Regions from separate parts of the Homo sapiens genome. Here regions 1 and 3 are each linked to region 2. Evidence: promoter capture Hi-C in human tissues and cell types (Jung and others, 2019). All regions are on one chromosome and are shown on one strand. Each heading gives the region's core, a stretch centred on a gene start or on the middle of the fragment in contact. The rest is flanking DNA. Distances are from core to core; before and after follow the strand shown. Region 1 has its middle 33 kb from the start of MIR9903. Region 2 holds the start of NIPAL2 (NIPA like domain containing 2). Region 3 has its middle 7.8 kb from the start of MIR9903.

The links. Contacts are between HindIII fragments. The study calls those that stand out against the background at their distance.
Region 1: a fragment that was not itself captured here is called in contact with the fragment with the promoter of NIPAL2 in region 2 in 4 of the 25 tissues and cell types used here (IMR-90 fibroblasts, heart left ventricle, lymphoblastoid cells and 1 more).
Region 3: a contact is called between a fragment that was not itself captured here and the fragment with the promoter of NIPAL2 in region 2, in 3 of the 25 tissues and cell types used here (IMR-90 fibroblasts, adrenal gland and lymphoblastoid cells).

What each region holds. Positions count from the first base shown.
Region 1 is chr8:98,358,348-98,363,365 of GRCh38, reverse strand. It overlaps a transcript of STK3 not described here. Among named protein-coding and RNA genes, the nearest start is that of MIR9903, 33 kb to the left of the region's middle. RefSeq lists a silencer at 4,191-4,485. The HindIII fragment of the contact is 4,979 bases long and covers 768-5,018 here.
Region 2 is chr8:98,292,985-98,296,797 of GRCh38, reverse strand. NIPAL2 (NIPA like domain containing 2) reads left to right here and starts at 2,563. Exons shown (of 11, transcript NM_001321635.2): 1 at 2,563-2,795. The coding sequence starts at 2,661. The region is part of intron 5 of LOC105375659 (a long non-coding RNA gene); the gene reads right to left. RefSeq lists a silencer at 2,324-3,043. The HindIII fragment of the contact is 9,267 bases long and covers 1-3,813 here.
Region 3 is chr8:98,399,205-98,403,821 of GRCh38, reverse strand. It overlaps a transcript of STK3 not described here. Among named protein-coding and RNA genes, the nearest start is that of MIR9903, 7.8 kb to the right of the region's middle. The HindIII fragment of the contact is 6,459 bases long and covers 119-4,617 here.

The sequences.
Region 1 (5,018 bases), core at 2,008-4,507, 66 kb before region 2:
GAAGTGATTTTCTGGGGGTGCATTTCCACCAGGTGAAGGGCATAGCATTTAGCCTCATATGTTTCCTGACCACTGGCTCCCCACCAGAGATAGATGGACCTTCTCTGGCATTGAGCTGGGTGCCATGGAAAGCTCTGAACTTGATTTGTTATAGAAAAATGCATGCTGCTAAGTCGGTCTCCCCAGTGGACATTTTAGCTACATGACTCATGGGGTCTTCAAAGACCCTGCTCCATTTAAGGCTGATCTATTTGCAAGCATGTGTAGGCTTTGAGAATTTTACAGTGGTTTGTGAAGAGGGTGGAGTATACATTCAGAATGCATGAGCCTTTCCTGGACTGTAGATAACATGGTATGAGTGTGTGTGAGAGAGAGACTGATAATGATTGTGTCAAAGCTTTTTAGAAACAGATCACTAACTCTTGTCAGATCTGAAATGATTTTCTGCAAATGGGAATTTGCTGACCCAAATTAGACCTGCAGAATATCTATCCTTCTGGGTTGCTGAGGTGCCCAGCTGTGGGAGCAGACCCAGGGAAGAGGTGTGGCTAAGGAAGTGAAGGGAGCGGCCTCTTCTGCACAGCCCTGGGCTTAGCTGTGACTGTGTGATAGGAATTTAGGTGGAAGCATCATACTTTTGCCCCACTTCACCCCAGCTTCTAAGCCTGTGCTGCAGGAATTTGTTTGAGGTAAAATAAATGGATGCTCTCCTCCCATAAGCAGCCTTTGCCCTAGATCTGGGGAAGGATGGACATTCCTGGCAATCCACCTCGGGAATCAGCTAGACGCTGGGTGGATGCAGATTTGACTTCAGGGAAAAGTGTCCCCCCACAGTATCGCCCATCACCCTGGATCTTCTAAAGCGCAGTGGATTTGTCTTGACCTTGGGGAGGGTAGCTTTGACCAATAGAATAATAGAAGCAGGACCAGCAGAGCGGTCACAGCCCCCCAGCTCAACCTGTAAAGGGAGTGTGCAGACAGTGGCACGCCAGCACCCAGTGTCTCAAAAAAAAGTGTTGCAGCCATTCTTGAGCCCACTCTCTCTTACCCCTCACATCCAAGCCATCAATAAGTGCTGTCAGTGCTTGCTCCAGTAAAGATCCAAACCGGGCATTTCCCTTCTCCCCACTGAGCAAGCTTCACCCAAGCTCGTCTCTACATTCTCTCAAAGGGATCTCTTGACTATTAAAATGAGCCTAACTTCCGCTCTTCCACCCTCCTTTGCTCTCTTCTAGGTAGACTTCTTTGTTGGTTAACCGACCTTCCTTCTGGGAGGAAGGAACACTTTTGCACAATCCTCCCCAGAGGGACATTTGCCACCTGGAATCCAACCAAATGGAGTCTGCCAGGAGCTTGTGCAGCATCTGCAAAGCCAGTTCCAGTTGACAGAGGATTCAGGCTGGCAGTGAGGACTCAGCTGAGATCACCAAACCCTTGGGACTGGCTTGAGTTCAAAATGCTAGGTGCCCTGAGCCAAGAAGCTACAGAACCCCCTTGTGGCTCCCTTGTTCTGAAGCCACAAGGCCACATGTTGAAGGCCTGTCCCTGCAGCTCTCTCCAACCTCATCAGACCAGCAAAACCACCTTGTTCCTAGGTCCTTTCTAGAAGCTGGTGTGCCTGGGGTGAAAACATCCAGTGTCCCAATGAAATATATGCCATTTATACAAGGTACGCTGCTTTGTCGTTGTTAACACAGAGAGGGGACTGGAGGCAGGCATTTTGAACTCATGACTTCAAGGCAACCCAAACAGATGTTAAAGCCTGACCATCCTTTTTGTTAAGATCATAAATATAGCTCAATTTATTGTAATGCTCAGAGGTGTCAGGCACTATTCTGAGTACTTCATTAACCCTCTCAACAACCATGAAATTATTATTACCTGCATGCCACAGATGAGGAAACTGAGGCACAGAGAGGTTAAATAACCCACAGGTTTACAAAACTATCAAGTGCCAGAACAAACTACAAACCATCAGCCCAGCACCAGAGCCTATGCCCTTAACCACACCATAATATATATATATGGGGGTCATGCCTTGTTTTAAAAAGAAGCACTGCATTTTTTTTTCTGCAGCTACCACCTCTGGCACCGTGGGCAGGAGGCAAGGCCTGGTCTGCAGAGTGTGTGGGCCTTAAACTCCCAGCATGAAGCTCTTCAGCCTCCAAGGGCGCTGGCCACTTCTGAGCACTCATTAAAGTCAGGTGTAAGTTCTCTCTTGTCCAGTCTGGTTGGGAAGGGGGGTACTCAGTGTAATCTAATACCTTAGTTTATACATTCTGCAGGGTTTTGGGTCTACAGGAGTGTGAAAATAGCAGATTATCAGACTGACAAAATCCAATTTTGACCTTGTGATTTTGTGTCCTGTGGAGCTTGGGTGCTATAGATGTGGAAGGTTGAAGAGAGTGAACTGAACGTTTAGGGACACTCTGACACCCCTGGAAAATGTTTTTGCAATCCATGATCTTTATTTGTTTATGGATCATTTTGCATAGAAGTAGCTGAGAGCGTGTAATCACATAGCCTCAGCCCAACTGGCCTGTTAACAAAGCTATCTAATCACTGGCATGCCAAGAGAGCCACTAGCCTTGACTACTTTACTTTGACATTTAGTTAAACAGAGATGATGCCCTTATGTCTTCCAAAATGGCTGCATCGTAAAATATTAAAGTAATGAAAGTGTCTGTGAGTGAGAGCTCTCAAGGAAGGAGGAATATTCCTTGCAAGTACAAACAACGGCCAAATGTATCTGACAATGAATGCATCATTTACAGGCCAGCTTGTGGCATCATTAAAAATAGATCTTACTGTTTGTTGGGGGCTTGGGGAAATTAATGAAAAAAAAAAAAAGAAAGAAATTGGCTCAAAAAGACATGGTTGTCTTCGTAGCCTTGGAGAAAGGAATATGATCATTCAGGAAATATTACTGAGCTCCCACAGTATGACAGGCACTGGACTAGGCATGGAGACACAGAGGGAAGAAGGTCCCACCTTTGTGGAGCGCAAGTTTACAGGGTGGATGGGATGGGCAGGTCTGCAGGGAGTTACACACAGTGTGCAAATGGTGCAAGAGAGATAAGCACAGGGCAACGTGGGAGAGAGATACCAGGTGTCCCTCCCAGTTTTGGGGAGTCAGAATAGGCTTTTCTAATGTAATAATTTCTAATTCAAGATTTGAAGGACAAAATGGGGAGAAAAGGATGAAAGGGGAACCCCCAGGTATTTGCAAAGACCCCGAAGGTAAGTAAAAACCATACAGGGATACAGCAAAGAGGGGACAGAAGAGACCATATGTCCCAGTTTATGGTGGGCCCTCAAAGATGAGAGTCTTGGCAACTTCCAGCCAAGATAAAGAGAAAGGACACAAGGTACATTACAACGTCCCCAGCACTGTTTACCCTTCCCATGCCCCTGAAAACATGGCACATTCAGGGAGCTACAAGGTCCCCAGGACTGTTTACCCTTCCCATGCCACTGGAAACATGGCACATTCAGGGAGCTACAGGGTTTCAGAATGATTAGAGCAGAAAGGGCAAGACCAAGAAGTGGCAAGAGATGAGCCTCTGAGATTTCCCCAGAGATGAGAGTCTGGAGGGCCTCATGACTTATATCAAAGATTTGGGGTATGCGAGCCACTGAAAGATTCTAAGCAGATCAGATTAGAAAGATCCTCCTGGCTGCTCTATGGAGGCTGAATGGGAGAAGGAAGTCAAGATCAGAGGTAGGCAAACCCATTAGGAGACTATTGCAGTGAGGGAGATCACAGTGGCCTGATTCTGGTAGAAAGCATTCAAGAAAACACTCATTTATCCTTTTCTTTCTTTCTTTCTTTTTTTTTTTTTTGAGCCAGAGTCTGGCTCTGTTGCCCAGGTTGGAGTGCAATGGCTTGATCTCAGCTCACTGCAACCTCCGCCTCCCCGGTTCAAGTGATTCTCCCGCCTCAGCCTCCCAAGTAGCTGAGATTACAGGCGCCCACCAGTACACCAGGCTAATTTTTTTTTTTTTTTTTTTTTTTTTTTTTAGTTGAGATGGGTTTCACCATGTTAGTCAGGCTGGTCTCAAACTCTTGACCTCAGGTGATCCGCCCGCCTCGGCCTCCGAAAATGTTGGGATTACAGGCGTGAGCCACCGCGCCCGGCACTCATTTCTCCTTTTCATCACTTCCTCTTGGGTGACTCTGTCTTTTGGAGCTCTCTGAAGTCAAGATATTTGCTTTTGCTATTAATATTCAGCAGGAATAGCGGGATGGTGCCCAGTTCTTGCCCCTGGGAGCTCACATCTCTTCCCTAGAATGTCGTAACTCTGTTCTTCAGCACAGGAAGGAAATACCATTTCCCCAGCTCTTTCTTCGGAAAAGTCACTCTTGATTTGCTTCTGGGAGATGTTTGTCTCTGGACAGGGCTTGGATTCCATGAGCATGTGCGTGTGTGCGCTGCAGTCCAGCTCAGGGGTGGCTCTGCTTTTCTTGGTTTCCTGGATGCCGGCAAAGTTAAAACAGTGACGTTTCCTCTTGATGCTTATCTCCACAACACTTTCTCAAAATGTCTTGCCCATTAACTTTCTAACAGCACCATTTTTGGTGCCAAGCTTCTTGTTTGAAGGCTTGGCGCTTCACTGCAGCAAAAAACAATAGCATTTCTGCCTGTCACTCCCCCCTCATTCCCCTAAACCATGCCTACCTTTCCTCTGAGTCAACACACGAAGCTATGCACTTCTTGAGAAACACCCCTAAGCTTGAGCCTGCCCTGGGTCCCTGGAAGGTGGCTCATGGATCATCACTGTAATGCATTTTAAAAGAAGAGCCGAAAATGCAGGGAACACCATCCCTGGAAATAGATTCCTCAAAGAAGTCACAGGCACTGGGCAAGAACGACTGGAAGCCCTGATAGAACCCTACACATCTCAGAATCCTCCGTGGCTCCCCATTGCCCTCAGGATAAAGCACAAGCCTACTGGGCATCTGTGGTGTCTTTTTTTGGACAGCAGGGTTCAGTTCTGTTCCTCCCTCTTGAAACTGC
Region 2 (3,813 bases), core at 1,314-3,813:
GAGGTCAGGAGATCGAGACCATCCTGGCTAACACGATGAAACCCAGACTCTACTAAAAATACAAAAAATTAGCTGGGCGTGGTGGCGGGCATCTGTAGTCCCAGCTACTCAGGAGGCTGAGGCAGGAGAATGGCGTGAACTCGGGAGGCGGAGCTTGCAGTGAGCCGAGATTGTGCCACTGCACTCCAGCCTGGGTGACAGAGCAAGACTCTGTCTCAAAAAAAAAAAAAGTGTGGACTTCATTATGGCAATAGGGAGGCTTCAAGGCATTTTAAACCAGAAAGTAACACAATCCATTTAGTATTTTGCTTGTTAGCAACTGTACAACTACTTACAATCTGGCTGATAGAAAAATACTAGAGTGGTTGTACCAGGGTTGACTGGTTCCCCTCCCCCATAACCCCATGGCATTCCCACTCATCCTGGTTGGTAGAGCTTACCTCTCACTAGGTTGGAAATACCCAAGAATCACTTTCCCAGCCTCCCTTGCTGGTAGAACATGGGCATGTGACCCAGTCCCAGCCAATGGGATCTGAGGTGAAAGGATGCCAGGAGGATTCTGGAAAAGGCTTTCCTCCCTCAATGGACAAGACCAGTACCTCAGGGATAGCAGAGCAGAAAGGTGGAAGTGACGACATAATAGAACCACATAGAGACACATTCCTCTGGAGATAGCAGATAATTATTGTTTAAGCCACTTTTATTTGGATACTCTGTTACTTGCACCCTAAAGCATGTGAAGAGAAAGAAGCATTAATGAAGTCACCAATATCAATGAATGTGATGTTATAGAAAACTTATCAGACAAGGCATGGCAGCTCACACCTGTAATCCCACCACTTTGGGAGGCCGAGGTGGGACAACTGTTTGAGGCCAGGAGTTCTAGACCAGCCTAGGAAAAATTGCGAGACCCTGTCCCTACAAAAAAATAGAAAAATATTAGCCAGGGCCAGGTGTGGTGGCTCACACCTGTAATCCCAGCACTTTGGGAGGCCAAGACAGGGGGATCACTGGAGGTTAGGAGCTTGAGGCCAGCCTGACCAACACCGTGAAACCCTGTCTCTACTAAAAATACAAAAATTAGCCGGGCTTGGTGGTGTGCACGTGTAGTCCCAGCTACTCAGGAGGCTGAGGCAGGAGCATTGTTTGAACCCAGGAGGCAGAGGTTGCAGTGAGCTGAGATTGTGCCACTGCACTGCAGCCTGGGCAAGAGAGAGAGACTCTATCTAAAAAAAAAAAAAATTAGCTGGGCATGGTGGCATGCACCTGTATGTAGTCCCAGGTGGGAGGATCACTTGGGCCCAGGAATATGAGGCTAAAGTGAGTCAAGATCACACCACTGCACTCCAGCCTGGGCAACAGAGCAAGACCCTGTCTCAAAAAATAAAATAAAATGTAATATAACAAATAGAGACCTTTTTCCTTCAGATATTTATTTGAAGTAAATCAGCCTCTTAAAATTGGGAATAGTTACCTACAATTGTTAGCTGTTCACTGAACATCTCGAGTGCTTAAGCAAGAAACTACACAATTTCTGAGACGACATGTCTTGTTTTTTCTGTATGTGAAATGACTTTTTCTCACTCTTTTCTCTCATTTGCACATTTCCCCTAAGAAACACTGAAAACTGTCCCTGCTCCCTTCTAGGCAGCAATTCTCTTTTCTTGAAGGTCTCTCTTTCATGAACTCATGGAAGTCAAAGCACATTATCTAAGAAAAACCTCAGCATTGTGTAAACAAAAGAAGGCAACTATCAGCCTTCAGGCAACAGTATAGAATCATGGTTTTTTTAAAGTGAGAAATACCCTACAGATCATTTGTGGTCACACATTAGAATTTGAATACAGGTAAAACCAGAACATCTCGTTAGAGTTCTTAAGATTAATAACAACATTTATCTTTCATCCTAAATTCATATATACAGTAGCTGGCAACTTTTCAGCAACTCCACCTGATCCCATCTGAAGCAAACCCAATCCAGTCATCGCACACTGGGGTCCTATGGCTACCACATTCCTCATTCAAGGAATATTTACTAAGGATCTATCAAGCACTGGCACTGAGATTCAATCGCTCGGATCTTTTTTTCTCATATTGCTTACAATATTTCTGGGAACTCATGACTTTTTCATATGCAATCAATTTTTAAAATATCGGTGAGAAACACTACATATGTGATAGAGGACTGGAATTGCCAGGTAGAGATGGGAGATGATAGCTGCTTTGGGTTAGTCAGTGTCTCCTCCTCTTCCATTGACTTGGACAAATGTTTACAACGGAGATGATCTGATTCTGGCCCCGACAGGCGCGGGGACCCGTTGCGGACGGCCGCGGGGATTGCCCCCTTGGGCAGTGCGGCCCCGAGGATGCAGACACTGGCCCAGCGGAAGGAGGGCGCGGTGCGAGCTGGACGGCCCCGGGAGGCCGCAGACCGCCGGGCTCCCCGAGGACACCTCGCACCGGAGGAGGAGAGGAGGCAGCGCCCGGCCAGGCTGGGAGCACCTACGGCCGCGCGGGGGCGGGAGCCAGGTGGCCTCGGCGCGCCCGCCTCGCCCGGGCACCGAGCAGGAAGTGGCTGCGGCGCGGCCTCCTCGCGGTGCAACAGGGCGGGGAGGCGGCCGCAGCCCGAGCCGGAGCCCGAGCGCCGGGAGCGAGACCTCATGGCAGCGGTGGCGCCCGCGGGCCCCGGGGACTCCGCCTCGGCCGCCCTGGACGAGCTGTCACTGAATTTCACGTACGGGGCACCAGGCGCCGGCAACGGCTCCCTCTCGGGCGACTGGTACCGCAGGAACCAGGTAAGGGCCGCCCCGCAGCCACCGCAGCCCGGTGGGGACGCGGCCAGGGCGGCTGGCTCCGGGCGCCTCTGCGCCTCGGCCGCTTTCCTGCCAGCTCTCAGGAAGACACCCGGCCTCTCCGAGTGGGAAGAGGTGACATGCAATGTTTCCCGCATTGACCTAAGTCCGCCTCATCCGGAAGCGCGGGGGTCCGCCCAGTCTTCCTCTCCCGGGCACCCGGCACTGGGAGTGGGCGCCCAGGTCTTCGGCCTTGACCTCAGCCACCCGTTCCTGGGACCTCCGGGTCCCGATCCCGCCTCCCCAGCCTGCGTCCGCCCTCTTCTCCCGGAAGGAATCTAGGAGTGTGGGGGCAATTCACTCATTTTCACCCCAGGATCCTTTTACAGTTAAAAGAAAAGAAAAAAGTGACACCCTGTTATCAGAAGCAGAAAACTCATTAAGGGCAGCCTAATGTCACCTCGCGCAGATGCCCTGCGTGTGTCCCTGGTATCTCAACACAGCTCTTCCATTTCCGTGCGAGGAACACATTTTCTCAGGTTGCATTTGCAGGACTCTCATTCTTTCCCACCGGCCCTTTGGGAAAACTTTGTTAACTTAAACAACGCCAGTTTACACTGGAAATATACATTTAACAAAATCAAAGGGACTTGGAGCCGCCCATTTATTTTTGGCTTGGTTTAAGATGAGGAAGTGTTCTGGCCAGCCCTTCCTCTAGCAGCGTTCATATTGCAACTAAGTTTTATCACGGTGGATTCCAGGCTTCCTCCTGTTTTCATTAAATGTGTTACTTTGTTCTTGTTCTTTAACAAAACCATGGATACTTTTATTTTTGCAACAATATAATCAGAAAATATTTGTTGCTGTTGTCCTAAATCGGAGAGTTTAACCAATTATCAAAGATCTGGATTCCTTTTATGCCTGAAGTGTTCTAAATATTAATTTCTGAATGCAGAAGAGAATATATTTGTATAAAGAATAAGTAAGATAAATAAGCATGTTCACTTTATTAGTTTTCAAG
Region 3 (4,617 bases), core at 2,099-4,598, 110 kb before region 2:
GAGCACTGGAGGGCACTGGAGGTTTGGAGGATGAAGACACGTCCTTGGTTGCCTATAGCACGCAGTCTACTTTGTAACAAGGGTAGTGTGCAAGAGTAGTGTGTGACTCTGCCTTAGGCTATCTCTTGTGGCTGGAGCCTGCTCTACCTGTGCATAGGGCAGGCCAGAGGGACACAGATATGATCCCTGTCCCCCTCCCCAGGGGCAGCCCTCAAACAATGACTGGTGGGAATTGGTGGATCAATATGCCAGCTCCTTTGCCCTGGGGTTAGGGAGATGGGGGATAATTCCAGGACATGTATTTTCCACTGCCTCTAAGAGTTCCCCAGCAGGATTAAACTTCTGTTTTGTCACTGGCTTGACAATGATCTTTCATTGGCTTACTTCCCTTCCTTACCTGCTCCCCTGCTGGGGCTTCCTGGGATCACCTCCCAATTAAAACACCAGCACCAGAACACCCATCTTAGGGGGTACTTCTATGGGGGAGACAAAACTAAGATGATGGGGAAGCCCAGGCTCAGAAGAGTTAAGCAAACTATCCTGGGTTCAAGTAATTAAGTGGCAGCCAGAACTCAAGTCTGGGGTTTTTGGATTCACAGCCTAACTTCTAAACGCCTACCCTGAGCTGGGAGTGTCTGAGTCTCTGGAGTCAAAGGGGACCTCCTGCAAGGCAGGCCCACCTTCAAGTGGACAGCTGCGAGTGTGGTTGTGTGGTGGGGAGGAGTCCACTGCCCTTGGCCTCCCTCAAATGTCAGCAGCTGTGGGAACAGCTGGAGACTGATAACTCAGTTTTTACTTCTTCACAATTAGTGCAAGGCCCAAGAAAGTCAACAAAGGAAAGGTCAGGCCCTCCCCAGAGGCTGCTCCTCCTCTTCTGGGGCTGCGGTGTCCCCATTGTGGGGTCTCCTCTCTCAGCCTCTCACCCAGGGTTTCTCTGGAAGGGGTCAGAGAAGATGCTAGTCCCCTGGGGCTCTGCTTGGAACATGTGCTCATCAGTAAAGGTTGACAGAGAACATACTGCAGGCTCCTCCCCAGGGAAGGGCAAGTACCACCTGGCAGAGTCTCTTCTAGGGCTGAGGGAACAAGCACAGACTGTTCCCAAGGCATGTCCTCCTCGCCTGGCTGGCCCTGCACAGATGAGGCCCTCAGGAGTTGGGACAAACACTCCCTGGGAGGAGGAGGCAGATGATTCAGGCTGAACTCATGGGAGACCACCCCAGACTCCCAGGACAGCAGGGCCCCCTCCGTCCCGGAGGGGACACGGAGGCAGAGGAGAGCACCTATCTGGCTTTGCTCTGCTGTACTGGGGACACAGAACCCTCCCTGTTTCTCCTGTGGGGCCCAGACTTTCGCTTCCTTTCAGAAACTCAGCCTCACCAGGAATGAGCCAAACACAGACTCCAGGGAGCTCCGATCCCTTGGACTCTCTGAAAGAGGACACAGGAATGTGTTAGGATGCTAGATCTGGCTCAAGATATGCAGGCCAGGATAGTCTCTCCACAGTGGTATGCAGATCTTGGGGAAAGATTCTGCTATGGCTGAATGGGTTAGTGGCAAGTGCACCGGCCTTATGGCTGGGTGGGTCTGGGTTCAGGTCCCTGCTCTGACTCTCCCTAAGATCCCTTAGGAAAAAGAAGATAATGATGTGATGAGGATGCTACCTTTATATAATTGCTAAGTACTTAGTAAGTGCTAAATAAATGGTAAAGCTATTATTAATACCAATTATACCTGGGGAAGTATAGAACAGCAAGGATAGTATAATCTTATGTATATAAAATTGTATATAGATAGGATGTTTACCAAACATTAATAGTGGTTATCACCGTGTAGTGGGATTTGGGGGTAATTTTTACTTTCTTCTTTTATTTTTCTGGGTGTTCCTTGAATTTTTTTTACAATGCATGCGCACAAGAATAATTGCTCGTCTGTAACCTCAATTAGCTCCAGTAAAGGCTGGATTCTTGATATGCTTAAGTTTGGAAGTTTGGGATTAGGCACTTGAGGGAACCTGAATTACTCTTCATAGCAGGGAGAGAAGAATGTGGGTTCCCAGAGCAACCTGAGAGGAGATGAGACTGGGAAGAGGTAGGGGAGAAAAGGGAGCAAGTTGACAAAATCCCATGTGGTCGGCAACATAATCTTAAATCTCCCACGTGGTCTACTACCCACTCAGATGCTTGGTGTGAGTGATTGTTGTTGTGGGATATGAAATTGGAGCCACATTTCACATGTTGTGTGGGGTCAGACAGAGGCAGCATCTGAACACATACAACCCACAAATGAACAATCCATTCTGTTTTTCCAGGAATCAGCAGAAGCCTTGGAAAGCCTTGTGAGTTCCACAGGACACAGAATTGCTTGAGCTTGAGCCAAATTGTCTCTGTTATCCATTGCTACATTAAAAAAACACTTCAAACTTATTGGCATCAAACAACAATAATCATTTATTATATCTTTCCAGGTTCTGGGGGTTGGCTGGGCTCCGCTGGGTGGCTCTTGCATGGGGTCTCTCCTGCAGTTGCAGCTGGAGTCCCAGCAAAGCCTTCCCCATCCACATGTCTGGTGTCTGGGCTGGAAAGCCTCAGGCAGCTGGAGCTGGAGCACCTGGGGCTTCTTGCGATTTCTCTCCATCTCTATGTGGTCTCTGCATGGTGCTGGCAGCCGGGCATCTTCAGGGGGCTGGACTTCTTACGTGGCTGTCCATGGCTCCTAAGGCATGTGTCCCGAGAGAGAGAGCCAGGTGGAAGCTGTGTGGCCTTCCTAACTTGCTTTTTGGAAGTTGCACAGTCAATTATATGCACTCCATCAGTTGGAGCAGTCAAAAGGCCCACCCAGATTCAAGGAGAGATGACACAGCCGCCATCTCTCGATGGAGGAATTGCAAAGTTCTGGAATGAACATATGGGATTGAAAATAATGTTGTGGCCTTATTTGGAAAATACAGTCTGCCACAGGACATTTCACAGATGTTGAGGGGCAGGGCAGTCCCCAGCTGATATCTGAGTTACAATCAGGAAAAAACAACAAAACTATTTTTTTTTTAAAAAAGACAAAATATTAACTGAAATAGACTTCAAATCAAATCTAAGATTATTTAGAAGAACATGGATGAAGAATAGGGACTTTTATTGTAGCAGATTTACTGGAATTGGCTGTGAAAATCATCATGAAAGTGAACAAGCCAGAAAGAAAAATGTTACTCTTTTGTTCAAAACTTTCTGGATGGAGCCAGCAGTGCTGGAAATGGAACAGGAGAAGCCTGGAAGAGGGCCCGAGGGTCAGAAGGGTCAGACCTTGGCTGTTGGCAGGGAAGGCAGGGATCTGCGTGAGAGAGATTGCTGAGCTGAGACGTTCAGGACAGAGCCCGGGATGGGTGCAGGGAGGGACAAACCTCAGTACGGCAGGCGCCTGCTGTGTCTACATGTCACCTGCCTTTGCTACATGTGTGTTCCCTCGTGGTGACACCTGGGGGCACAGCCTTGGGGCCTGGGAATCTGTTGCCTTGCTCTGGGCTTCAATAAATGAGTCCAGGGCTCACGGGCTTGCTCTTCCTTTCATTATGGAATCCCTGGACTTGGACTTCAGTAACCATCTCCTGCAAACGATGGCCCTTCACTTCAAGGAACTGGCTCCCCCTCTGGGGGCTCTGGCTTGTCACTGACTCTGACTCTGCATTCTTGCATCTCTACAGTCAGACCTGGAATCCCTGAGCATGGGTCTGGAGGGAGCCTGAGTGTCATTTGGGTTGGAAAGCAGCTCTTGCTCACCACCGGGATCTGATGCGTGGGTAGCAGCTTCTATCAAGAAGGATCATGAGGTTGCATTTGGGATCAGAGGGGAAAAGGGCCTCGATCAATGGGCAGTGGAAGGTGGAGTGGTGATACAAGTTTGCAAACACTTCTGAACTCTGTTTTATTTCTGGGCAGCAATAGAGGGTGACCCTCCCGAAGCACGTGGTCATCTCTCCTTTCCTCCCAGATCTCAGGGCTGGCATTCCATGGCCTCCTGTAAGCCACACCCCATTCTCTACTGCTCTCAGTTGGTGACATAGTGGCCAGTTCTTGCTCTGGCTTCCTTTTGGAGATGGAGGGCAGTAGATCGGCAATTCATTCTCTTTAGGTGAATTATCTTTAGATGAATCACCCCTTTGATCTTCTTGAAAAGACCTCAGAGATCGTCTAATTTTACCTCTTATTTTGCAAATAAGGAAACTGAGGCTAAGAGAGATAGAAAAGCTTTGTTTGCCAGTCTTCCCTTCAGCATCTCAACAAGACTTTGCCAAGGGGCCCGCTTGGGGCATGGCACAAAACCCCCTTCCCACTGTCAATATCTCCCCTCCAGTCTCCTTCCCTGCCGTGGCCAGGCCACGTGGAAACTCATGCCAAAGAGCGTCAACCGGGAATGTGTCTTCTTTCTTGAAATACGTTATGGATCAGCAGGCAGCCCCCTCAAGACCCCAGCAATGAAGCTCGCTTGTAGCCCGGCACACAGTAACCCAGAAACATATGTGGTGAGCAATAACAGTCATAAATTTTATGAGATTATGTGTTCCTAATGTGAGATTTCAGGCTGATCTGTTTGTTGAGTTATGCCAAACTTCAGCATGATTCAATC